Linked DNA regions of Homo sapiens: region 1 is linked to region 2. Evidence: promoter capture Hi-C in human tissues and cell types (Jung and others, 2019). All regions are on one chromosome and are shown on one strand. Each heading gives the region's core, a stretch centred on a gene start or on the middle of the fragment in contact. The rest is flanking DNA. Distances are from core to core; before and after follow the strand shown.

Region 1 (5,853 bases), core at 2,996-5,495, 70 kb before region 2:
CAGGAGGGAGAAGAACGAAGGAGGAACTTCCAAACACTTGTAAAACCATCGTATCTCATGAGAACTCATTCACTATCATGAGAACAGCATGGGGGAAACTGCCCCCATGATCCAATCACCTCCTTCCCTCCACATGTGGGGATTACAGGTCCCTCGGTCAAGAGGTGGGAATTACAATTCAAGATGAGATTTGGGTGGGGACACAAAACCAAACCATATCATCTCTTTTGCAGTTCCCTCTTGAATAAGCACTAATTATCCCATAAAAGGAGAATATCTTAAGCCATAGCCATGCAATGGCTTGGCACGGGATTCCTCAGCCCCAGTGATAAGTAAAGTTTTACAGGACTATGAGAATGCCAGCCTGAAGGTAGGTATTCGAACATGTAAAAATCCCTAAGGATAAGGTTTGTTGTTTGGTTTTAATCTACTCTTATAACCTCAACACCCATTAATGTGCCTGGAACATAGAAGTTGCTCAATAAATGTTTGCCAAAAAATGAATGACTGAGTGAACGATGAAGGAAAAGTCCAGAAGACAGTGATATTCCCCTGGGAAAGGTCAAAAGCCAGAAAAAAATTCCCTGGGGTTAGAATTTGTTCCTTTTTTTAAGAGACAAGGTCTTGCTCTGTTGCCTAAGCTGGAGTGCAGTGGTACAATCATAGTTCACTGCAGCCTCACACTCCTGGGCTCAAGCAATCCTCCCACCTCAGCCTCCCAAGTAGCTAGGGACTACAGGCATGCACCACCATGCCTGTCTATTTGTTTTTATTTTTTTTGTAGAGATGAGGGGGGCTTGTCTTACTTTGTTAACCAGGCTAGTCTTGAACTCCTGGCCTCAAGTGATTCTCCTACCTTGGCCTCCCAAAATGCTGAGATTACAGGTGTGAGCCACTGCACCCAGCCCTTTACTCTTCTTGTCTGACCTCCACAGTGTCTTTGACTGCATAACAAATACTCAGTAAATTTACCCAAACTGATATATCTGTAAACCAAAAAAGTATCTGAAATAGGTCTCAAACAATTTAAAAGTTTATTTTGCCATGACTATGAATCATGACCAGTGACACAGCCTCAGGAAGTCCTGAGAACATGTCCCCAAGGCAGTTAGGCTACAGCTTGGTTTTATATGTCCTCAGGAGACATAAGACATCAATCAATACACTTGTTCTGTCAGGAAAGACAAGACAACTGAAAGGATTGGGGAACTTACAGGCCATAGGTGGATTCAAAGATTTTCTGATTGCAACTGGTTGAAAGAGTTAAGTTATTGTCTAAAGACCTTGAGCCAATTGAAAGAAGTGTCTGCGTTAAGGTAAGAGGTTGTGGAGACCAAGGTTCCTATTATGTAGATGAATTCTCATAAGTGGCATCCCTAGAGGCAATAGGTGGCAAATATTTCCTTTTCAGAACTTTAAAATGTGCTAAACTCTCAGTCAATCTCTTCAGAATCAGAAAAAGACCTGGAAAGTAAGGGAATTTGCTTTATAATGTAAATTTTCCCCACAAGAGACAGCTTTGCAGGGCCATTTCAAATTATGTCAAATAAATATATTTTGGAATAAATACTTTGGTTTCTTTCACTTTGGAATAAATACTTTGTTTCTTCGGCCTTGTTATCTGTCATATGATGTTATACTAGAGTCAGGTTGGAATTTGGGATCTTGTTGCTACAAAGAGTCTGTTCCATCAGTTGTAGGATCTCTGTTTTAAAATTAATGCTGGTCAGTTGTGTCTAAACTCCAAAAGGGAGAGGATATAATGAAGCATGTCTGACCGCCAAGCCTCCTGGTCCCATCATGGCCTGAACTAGTTTTTCAGGTTTATTGGGGTCCCCTTGGCTGAGAGGAGAGTCCATTCCATCGGTTGCGGAGGCTTAGAATTTTATTTTCGGTCCACATATCCTCGTTCTTAACAGCTTTGCTGGATGACTCTGTGGCTCGGCCCAGGAGTAGCCCTCCCTCGCTGTCAAAAATCAGTCTCACCACCAGGGGGCAATGCAGACCAAAGACCAGGGTTTTCTTGTACAAACCTCTTATGCCTAACAGCAGGGGGCCCCCAAATGCCATTTGCACCACCAAAGGCAGCATTCCCTCTGCATATTTGTTAACATCAAAATCTCATTTAAGCATCTTTGCTTCTTGGAGTTACATCTGAGGTAATAGTTAAAAAGCCATCCCAAAATCAATAAAAACAGTGGCCTATATTTGGGAAAAAATATGTATAATAATAACTTCTGCTGTTGGTACTGCATTCACCGTTAGAAAAATTCCCTATTGTATTTGTCTAAGCAACTAAAGTATGATCCCTGAGGAGCCTGAAGCATCCCACAGATGATTCATATTTAATTGATAATTAATATGCAGTGAGTGCTGCATAATATCTATGAAATGCACATGAGTCTCTTCTCAGGAACAACTAGCACTAGACTAAAATCTCGTATTTGGAATCCAAATGGTTAGGATTTTAGCTAAGCCCTTCATTGTTCAGTTGTAAAAACAAAACAAAAGCAAAAACAAACAAAAAAAAACTGGTCCAAAATGGGAAAGAGACATGCCCAAGCTAAGGAAGGAAGCAAAAAGGGAATATGTAATATCTGTTGATTCAGGCACTGTATCTCATTAAGCACATATGGAACTGAACTTATTCCATCTCTACCAGGCTATAATTAGCACCCATTTTCTCACATGAGGAAGTAGACTTAGGAAATTACAACACTCTTTGCTTTATTTCACTAGTGCTTTCATTCAACATTGATTGAGCTCTAATTTGGCGCCAGCCACTATGCTGAGCTGTAGGGATAGGGAGACTGTATGACCTCAGGTAAATGGGGCAGAGGCACACAGACATTACAACGACTGAGTATAGTGAGCATTATTCTATAGCCTCAGTTCTCCCTTAAGCCATAGCTTGATATTGTACTGCATTTTGCTGCCTTGACTGTATCATCACCTCCCTCCTTCCCAGGGCAGGTTCTGTGTTGTATCCTCTTTGCTTCTCCAGTGTTTAATATCTTGTACTCCAATAATGACTGGTTGACCAAATGGATGGAAGGAAGAAAGGAAGGGTGGGTGGATGGATGAATGGATGGATGGATGGATGGATGGATGGATGGATGGATGGATGGTGGATGGACAAATGAATGGATCAATGAATAAATGAACAGATGAATGAAGTCTGGCCACTGTGGGTCAAAAAGGGAAAGAAGTGAGACATTGAAAGACTTTCTTCATTACTATATTCTTATTATCTGTGCAGATATTTGATCTGCTTAGCATGTTGTGAACCCCTTGAACTTTCCTGTATTTTTCTACTGCTGGCACATGTTAGGCAGCTTCTAGGTGCTTAGTAAAAGCTTGTGGAATGAGTGGTATTTTTCCATGTTTAACTTCATTCTCTCTCGTTTCTTTGATAAGTTTTAGGGTGGGGGGTGAGGTTCTTCGGTCTTTCATGCAAAGAGGAAGACTAAGCCACAGAAAGGTGAAGTGTCTGGGGGTCTAAATCATCTAGAACTCTGGGATTCGGAGACCCCAGACCCTGGGGCAAATCCTTGAGAGAGCCTGTGGCCTTTACAAGAAGTACCTGGAGGTCCCAGCCCTGAGGAGGGAGGAGGAGAGCCTCCCAGCTGTGTCTGGAGGAAGGCCCCAGGCCTGAACCTTTCAGCTAGAGGTGTCCATGCCCCCAGTGGCCAAAGGGGATTGTGGGAGCTGGGGCTGGCTGCTCTGGAAGAGAGCAGGGAGAAGGAGGCAGGAACAATGGCTGGAGTCCTTTCAATAGAGGAGCCGGGAGGAGGTTGGTGGAACAGCAGGTGCAACTCCAACCCAGACAGCTCAGAGCACTCTGCCCTCGTTACTGCCCCAGCCCTGTGGGGTTAGTGAGGGGCCGCCTGAAACTTGAGGCCCAGGGTGGGGCCTCCAGAGGCCAAAGACAAACCCTGGGTGTCTGTAGTGCTGCATTTTACCCAGGTTTTGAAAGGAGTACGCTTAGTTTGAGGAGGCCTGCCCTTCTCTGTGCCTCTGTTTTCTAATCATTGCAGTGGCGTTATGGAGAAGAATGAGTGAGTCACTGCTAGAAAACACCTGACAGAGGCCAGGTACATATTAGGTGGTCATTAAATACTTTCCCCTCCCTCCCTCTTCACTGTTTCCTGATGTGGCACCTTAGTTTCCTCATGAGTGAAATAGGAATGACAGTCCCCACACCAGCTTTGTCTTAGGGATCTTATGAAAAATGATAATAAGATAGATGTAAAAGCACTATAAAGTCTATAGGTAAAATGTGAAAGCGAGGTCAAACGAACGCATGAGGGCCCCAGGATAGAACACGCCAAGGCAAGCAAATCTCTAAGGTAAAAATCTGGGGGAGAAAAACCTCCTTCAGTTTCATCCAATTTGGCCTGTCCACAATGGCCTCTTTACTCGCTGCTGCCAAACCCTCTCACTATTCCCTCCAGGTGTTAGGAAGGCTCCTCCTGCCGCCGACTCCTCCTCCTCCTCCTCCTTTCTCTCCTCCTCTTTTTCCCCCTCCTCCTCCTCCTTCTCTTCCTCCTCCTCCTGCTCCTTTTCCATCTCCTCCTCTTCCTCCTCCTTTCCCTCCTCCTCCTTTCCCTTCTCCTCCTTTCCCTCCTCCTCCTTTTCTTCCTCCTCCTTTCTCTCCTCCTCTTCTTCCTCCTCCTCTTCTTCCTCCTCCTCTTCTTTCCCCTCCTCCTCTTTCCCCTCCACCATTTCCTCCTCCTCCTCCTTCTCCTTTTCTTCCTTCTCCTCCCCTTCCTTCCCTTCCTTCTTCTCCTCCTCCTCCTCTTCCCCCTCCTCCTTCCCCACTTCCCCTCCTCCTCTTCCTCTTCCTTCTCATCCTCCTTTTCCTCTTCCTCTTTCATCTCCTCCTCCTACATCCCCACTGCTCTCATTCCAGTGTTCACCAGCACAGGCATGTTGCTGCCACCTGTCCTTGGGAGAGGACTCAGATTGCTGTCACTGCCACTGGACAGAGGGCGGGAAGAACAAGCCCATTGGCCCCCTAGCGTCCTGTAAACATGCCCAGAATAGAACCCGCTCAAATGGCAGCTGTTTCATGAAGCTATCCTAGAAAAGCTCACTTGGCTGAGCCAACTCCTCCCTGTGGATGATGGGAAAGTGGAAAGAGGCTAGACTTGAAGGCTGGACTTGAAGGTGGGAAGGGGGAGCTGAAGGCCAGGTCTACATCTGAATCTAGAATGCTGTGTGACCTTGAATAAGTTCCCGAACGCCCTCGACTACAATTTTTTCTCACATCCAAGGTGATGCTTGGTTTTAAGGGTTAAATAAAACAATTAGGGCGTGGTGGCCTGTGCCTGTGGTCCTAGCTACTTGGGAGGCTGAGGTGGGAGGATCACTTGAATCCAGAAGGTCGAAGTTGCAGTGAGCTATGATTGCACCACTGCGCTTCAGCCTGGGCAATGGAGTGAGACCCTGTCACAAAAAAAAAAAAAAAAAAAAAAAAAAAAAGATCTATCTATCCACCTATCTATATCTATATATACATGTCCAGATCTATAAATATATAGGTATAGACTATATGTAGATATAAGTTATAGACAAAGAAATAGAGAGACAAGGAGCACGAGAACAATCCCTCCTGCCCCTGTGGGCATGCCTTTGAACATGACTTTTTTTGGCTGCACCCATCAAGTAATGGAGTTTATTTACCCTTTCCTTGAATCTTGACTGGCCCTGGGACTTGCTTTCACAACCAGAAATGACAACTAGAATGTGGCAGAAGTGGCATTGTGTGTCTTCCTAGTCCAGGTCTCAACAGGACCTGCAGCTTCCACTCTTCTTCTCTTAAATCAGAACTCTTCCACTGCTGTGTGATGA
Region 2 (6,500 bases), core at 3,860-6,359:
CTTCCTTCTCATTTCTCTGTAATTTAGTTCAACCGTGAGTTTACACATCAAAGGGCTTGCTACTTAACTTTCAGATGAGCTTTGCCAGCTGGTACCTAAACAAAACCGATTCACACTGGCAGCCCGTTAGTGCCATTTGAGCCCTCGCATTGCATTAGCCAAGTTAGCTGTCTCACTATTCTCTGCTCAGGAGAAGGCTGCCTGCTTGTGGTCAACACTGCCCAGATCAAACCACATTCAGGCCCTGTGTCAGTTACAAGGTTTCTGAGGCAGGTAGGAGGCATGTGCCCTTAAACCCTGAGGTCCCAGCTCCAGTGAAGCTGGGTCAATTTCTTGTCTTGCACTTTGACTCAGTTTTCCTTTCACTGAAAGAGTAGGGTGGACATATTTCCTGATATAACTTGAGTGTCTTAGTAGGGAGGGGTCATCGTTGAATAGGAATTGTATGTCAGCAAGTTCTCCCAGGGCATCTAAGGCTATTTGTTCTCTCTGTAACTTCTCTGGTCTCCCTAACCTGAATACAGGTGAAGACTTAGAATGAAGTTATGAATCATAATGCTAGTGATGATGATGATTAACAATTTCTTGAAGTCATGCAGCACTTTCGAGGAAAGTAGAAAAACTACTTTCATTTTATCTCATTTGTCTTTATAACATGCAGAGAAGACAGAGGAGAGATGGTCCTGGCCAGGCGTGGTGGCTCACGCCTGTAATCCCAGCACTTTGGGAGGCCGAGGTGGGCGGATCACAAGGTCAGGAGATCGAGACCATCCTGACTAACACAGTGAAACCCCGTCTCTACTAAAAATACAAAAAATTAGCCGGGCGTGGTGGTGGGCGCCTGTAGTCCCAGCTACTCGGGAGGCTGAGGCAGGAGAATGGCATGAACCCGGGAGGCGGAGCTTGCAGTGAGCCGAGATGGCACCACTGCACTCCAGTCTGGGCGACAGAGCGAGACTCCGTCTCAAAAAAAATAAAAAATAAATAAATAAATTTAAAGAAAAAAGAGATGGTCCTTCCAATTCAGAGACAAGTCTCCTGAAGCCCAGAGATAAGAGATTCAAGGTGGTCAGAGACCTACAGGTAAGGAATGAAAATTCTTGTTATAAAAGTTGCACATTCAAAGCAACTCCACGGGAACTGTTTTCTACCCTGGAAAAAGACAGGGATGGTAAGACATCTTCTAAGGTCATGGGACCATTGGCTCTGACTGCAGAAAAACTGCTCTCCCTGGACCTTTACTGGGGTCACTGGGAAATCAGGAGTGGCCTCAGTTGATTCCTTAAAGCTTTGCTCAGTTGTCTAGGCTCATATTTTTTCACCGGCTTTTGGAGATTATCCAACCTCACTTAAATATAGTCAGCATTTCTTTTCTCTTAACACAAGGCCCTGGATTTTGAGACTTGAAATAATATTAAAAAATTATTTGATATTTTGTATTTTTCATAACACCTTTGACTTTATTAATTCTTTTCATTTTGTATTGTTGCCAAAAGATAGATAGGGAAAATGTTATTAGGCTTCTTTCACTGATAGCAAACTAAACCTCCAAAGGGTTGTGAGAAGACTGCAGATTGGAAGAAGTAGGAATACACGTGGATTTTCTGAATTTGAGTCAATTTATCTCTCTGAAACATCATCTCGCCTCCCTCCCCTCATAGCACTCATTCTAGTATTTTTTGAGCGCTTGCTTTGTACCAATAATGTGCTGAGTTCTGTGGATTCAATGTTGACTAAGACAGACATGATCTTTGAACAAGAAACTTGCAGAAGAGATGAACAGACAAACAAGAAGCCAGGGAATTAATTAAATTGTGATAGGTGACAGTACCTTGAGGAAGGCAGAGTTGTCTGTAATCCAAACAAGCTGCTGGCTTAACTGGTCTATGGGTCTGGTCCAGTGTGGCCAATCTTAGGTCCTAGAGATGAAGCATGATGCTCTGTATCTCAGGTGATGAATACAGGAGGAGGGTAGGAGATTTTTACAAGAAATGTTTTGTGACCCAGCTTTCTAGACTCGACTCAGGCAAGGGAGAGCCTGAGGGATGCAGAGTTTCACATAAGACACCTCTCGGGAACCCAGACACTAAGGAAGGGCAGCGCCCCTTCACTAGACAAGGAAGAAAAGGAGCCACACTGAGAACCTACCGGTGGTGTTGGGGGTAGACACACCCAGCCATTGCATTACCATACCCAACTGCTGAATCAGGGAGCTAATTATGGCTTTGTGCTGCTGGAGACCACATTCCTGAGGCTTTCATGCACACATACGGAACCATAATACATACACACATGCTGTGCTGTCCATCACTGGTCTCCTTCTCCACTCTGCCTTCTCATTTCCAGCCCCACTCTCTATGCATTCTGTCTCTAAAGTATCCCTTCCACAGGGTGTTTCTGTTGTTCCATAGGGTATCCCATTTCCACCGCTCATACACAAACCAACACACTGCTCATACCCTTTGCCTGACTCAGTCATTCCAGGAAGGCTGCACATCATACCCAGCTTTCACCTAGAATGTCACTGACAAAGGTGTCAGTGCTGAAGGAGGGTCCTTAAGGAGTATCTTCTCATCCAAACCATCCACTTTCCAGATGAGGAAACTGAGGCCTCATCAGGGACTCCAAACCATCCACTTTCCAGATAGGAAACTGAGGTCTCATCAGGGACTCCAAACCATCCACTTTCCAGATGAGGAAACTGAGGCCTCATTAGGGACATGGCTTGTCCAAGAGCATATAGTCAGCAGTAGGGCCAGAACAAAAAGTGGGCTTCCAGAGTCCTTTGTCTCTTCCATGGAATCTCACCTCCGACGATGTGAAAATGAGTTTGAAGTCTGGAGCCCACCTCATACCTTAATCTACCTTCCAGGAGTCTGCTCTTTCCTTAAAGCGCTGGAATGTTTGATCGATATTAACTCATTCAGCTAAAATTCTTGAGATACTCTCACCAGCAAGCAAGAATACATGTTCTCTGTCAATAAATGCAACACAAAGAAGCATGGCGCTTTAGAAAAAGAAGACATTATTTTGCCCTGGACGATAAGAGAAGGTGTGAGTAAGGGTTCCATATTTTGTCTCAGATTTTGAGAGGTAGAGTTAGAAGAGCAGGAGAAAAGCTTTTCAGACTGAGGGGCAGGTTTATACAAAGGTGGGGAAAAGGAGGTGATGTTCAGGAAAAGGCTGAGTAGCCTTTGGGGTTGACACTTAGAAATTGTCGTATTGCTTGTAATTACTGCCACGTGTATGTACTTACCGCAAGGCAGTGGGTTTCATTTAATCATCAGAACAAACCTATACATGAGAAATTCATTCATTTAACAAATACATATTGAGTGCCTACTATGTTGCCTGGCAAGTTCTAGGTGTCGGGGATACATCTATGAATAAAACAGACCAAGTCCCTCAGCCACCAATAAAAGAGAACAAGTTCCTGCCTTCAGGGAATTTACACTGGGACTTGTTACCTCATTTCACAAATAAAAAAAGAAAGAAAGAAAAAGAAAAACTGAGAAAGAGGGAGGGGAAGGTAATGGCTCAAATAACAAGCAGCGAAGCCTGTCTGTGTTCTTAAACCCTCGCGGTGCCATCTTTCAGGAAGCCTAGATTCGAAGGTCAGAGTCTTCAGGGTCAACAACCGAAGGCAGTGAGATTCCCCTACAGGGTTTTGAGCAGGGGTGTGGCAGAAACCATATGGCTTGTTTTCCTTTGAGCTGTCCCCCCTGCCACCACAATTCTATTTAATTTTTTTGTATTTATTTATTTATTTATTTATTTTGAGACACGGTGTCACTCTGTCACCCAGGCTGGAGTGCAGTGGCACTATCTTGGCTCACTGCAACCTCTGCCTTCCAGGCTCAAGCAATTCCCAAGCCTCAGCCTCCCAAGTAGCTGGGATTACAGGCTCCTGCCACCACACCCAGCTAATTTTTGTATTTTTTTTTTTTTTTTTTTTTAGTAGAGACGGGGTTTCACCATGTTGGCCAGGCTGGTCTTCAACTCCTGACCTCAAGTGATCCACCAACCTCGGCCTCCCAAAGTGCTGAGATTACAGGCATGAGCCACCGCGTCCGGCCCCCATGCTATTTATAATCAGATCGGCTATGTCAATCCTAATCCATTACATCTATCCCCCACCCCCCAACACACACACACACACACACACACACACACACACACACACACAGGCTTCTTTCAAGATGAGGCTAACACTCCTTGGGCAGAGCTGCCATCTTCCCGCCAAGCCTGGTTTTAGAGGATTAGCCTCAGTGCACCCTCAAGCCCCCAAGCCTCATGCTGCACCTAGCACTCCGGTTAACTGACCCTTTGTCCTACAAAACCTTGTAAGCTTGAATCCTCTCCTGGCTCAGTTGCTAGAAGTTAAAAGTGAGGGTGGTTGAGAAAATGATAGTATTATAAGGGGACTGGGTGAGACTAATAGCTATAAACTTGAAACAGGCCTCTGCTGTCACCTGAAACTCAGCTCCCTCAGAGCTGGAAAAGTTTGCTTTTGACATGTTTTGGGAGTGGGAGTCCCGGTGCTCTGGACTCTAGCCTGTAATCCTGGTGTGGTTCGCAATGCCCCTCACTTGGGTGCTAGTCCAGTCCTTGAACAAAACACACGCCCTTTAGTGCGAGTCGGGAGCGGGAGAGACGGTATTAAGAAAAATAAACTGGCGATTAAGAGGAAGGGGTAATGAAGAAAGGGGAACATACACAGAACGGGAGAAGGAATGGATTTTAAACAAAACTGGAGTAAGAATTTCAGGTAATGAAAGGGAAAAAAGGATGCGACAAGAGCAAGACAGGAACAATCGGAGAAAGGGGGCCAGGCAAGAAAGGAAGACTGAGGGGGCAGGGTCGCCCAATGGGGCTGATGGAAGTGAGAGCAGAGAGACGGGACCCGGGACCCCGCGCAGGCCGCGGGCGCGAAGGAGCCGCGAGGTCGCGAGCAGCCCCAGCTGTCAGCCCGGAACAAAGGCCGCCGAGCGGCACAGACCAGGCTGCCGGCAGCTCGCTGCCAATCAGCGGCGCCGGCTCTGGCCCCGCCCCGGGCCGGCCCCGCCCCGCCCCGCCCCGCCCCGCCCCGCCCCGGCTCCGGGACCCGCGCAGAGGCCGGCGCGCCTGGAGCTGGCGGGTTGGCAGCGGCCGGGCGGGGAGGCCGAAAGTTTCTCTGCCCGCCTCGGCCAGTGAGTGGGAGCCGGGAGCTGCATCCCGCGCAGTGGGACCGGCCCGGCCCGCTCAGCAGCTCTGGAAAAAGAGAGACGGGAACACACCGGGAAACACTGGGAAAAAAAAAAAGTCTCAAGTGCGCCCGAGGCGCAGGGGGCAGGTAAGGTGCGGTGGCCGGGGATCTCCTCGCCCCTGGAGGGTCTGCTGCCCTGGCTGCGGGAAACCGCTTTCCCCTCGCCGGGCCGGACCGTCCGTGCGTCCGCGCGTCCGTCGGTCTTTGTCTGTCTGTGTCCGTGGCTGTCGAGGTGTCTTTGTCTCCGCGTGGAGCTGTCAGGGTCTCCCCTCTGCAGGGTGGGCGCCGCTTCTCCGGCCCGGCCCAGAGGAGGTGACTGTGCGTCTGTCCTCCTGTCTTTGTCTTCGTGTCTCCTGCAGACGGGGTTCGTCTATTCCCAGCACCGATGCTGATCCTGGCGGGGACGTCAGTGTTAGGTGACACTGGTGTCGGAGGTGAAGAAGTGGGAGGTGGGGACGCGAGGCCGCAGGAGCAGGGGCCGCAGGAAGAGGGTCCGGCGGTCGGTCCGGGCCGCTGAACTTCGCCGCCTGGAACTTTGCAGATGAGCTGTGTCCACACCGGTGGGGAGGACACCGGTGCGTTGCAGCCAGAGATTTGAAAGGTTTCCCTCAAGGAATAAGTCACACGGGCGGAGGTGGTTAGAGAGGAAGGTGGTAAATCGAAGTGTCTAAGTGGCTCCCTGGGGCTGCAGCTTCCTGGGGTCGGTCCTGGATGTGCAATTCAGGAATTTAGTCAAAGCACCATGCACACACAGACAGCCCCACACTACCTTCACTTCTTCCACCGCCACCCTAGGCAGCCAGACCTCACCCCTCCACCCTGCCACAGGCTTTGCTCTGGCTGGAGGGGCTTCAGAGGTCGCAGCTTGGCAGCAACAGGCATCCCCGAGACACCAAGGGCCAGGTGATGTCTCTTTTTCGTGCTCCAAGTGGAAAGGTTTGAACTGTGGAGCAAATGAGCCTTGTGCTCGCCCACGAGTATGTCAGGCCTGGGAAAGTGCTCCAGACTTGTTAGCTTCGCAGTCTTCAATTTCCCAGGAATAAGAAGTGCTTAGGGATCTGGCCTCCTAAAGTGTTTCCTGTCTCACTTATTCCCTCCACACCGTCCCGCTGCCATCAGCCCCTCTACTCTCTGGTCCCGGGCGCTGGGAAAGTACTGAGGAGGCACTGAGTTCTGGACCATGCCGGGCAGGCGCTGCTCCTAATAAGGATCCCACACTCTGCTGGAAGTGCAGCCTAATAGGAATGCTGGGAGC

What was found. The method cuts DNA at HindIII sites, captures the fragments that hold promoters and counts their contacts. A contact is called where the count stands out against the background at its distance.
Region 1: a fragment that was not itself captured here is called in contact with the fragment with the promoter of LZTS1 in region 2 in 4 of the 25 tissues and cell types used here (H1 embryonic stem cells, IMR-90 fibroblasts, aorta and 1 more).

Annotation. Positions count from the first base shown.
Region 1 is chr8:20,372,558-20,378,410 of GRCh38, reverse strand. No RefSeq gene overlaps it. Among named protein-coding and RNA genes, the nearest start is that of LZTS1, 72 kb to the right of the region's middle. The HindIII fragment of the contact is 5,824 bases long and covers 1,334-5,853 here.
Region 2 is chr8:20,302,572-20,309,071 of GRCh38, reverse strand. It overlaps LZTS1 (leucine zipper tumor suppressor 1), which reads left to right and starts at 5,109. Exons shown (of 4, transcript NM_021020.5): 1 at 5,109-5,332. RefSeq lists a silencer at 5,050-5,119. The HindIII fragment of the contact is 20,395 bases long and covers 3,735-6,500 here.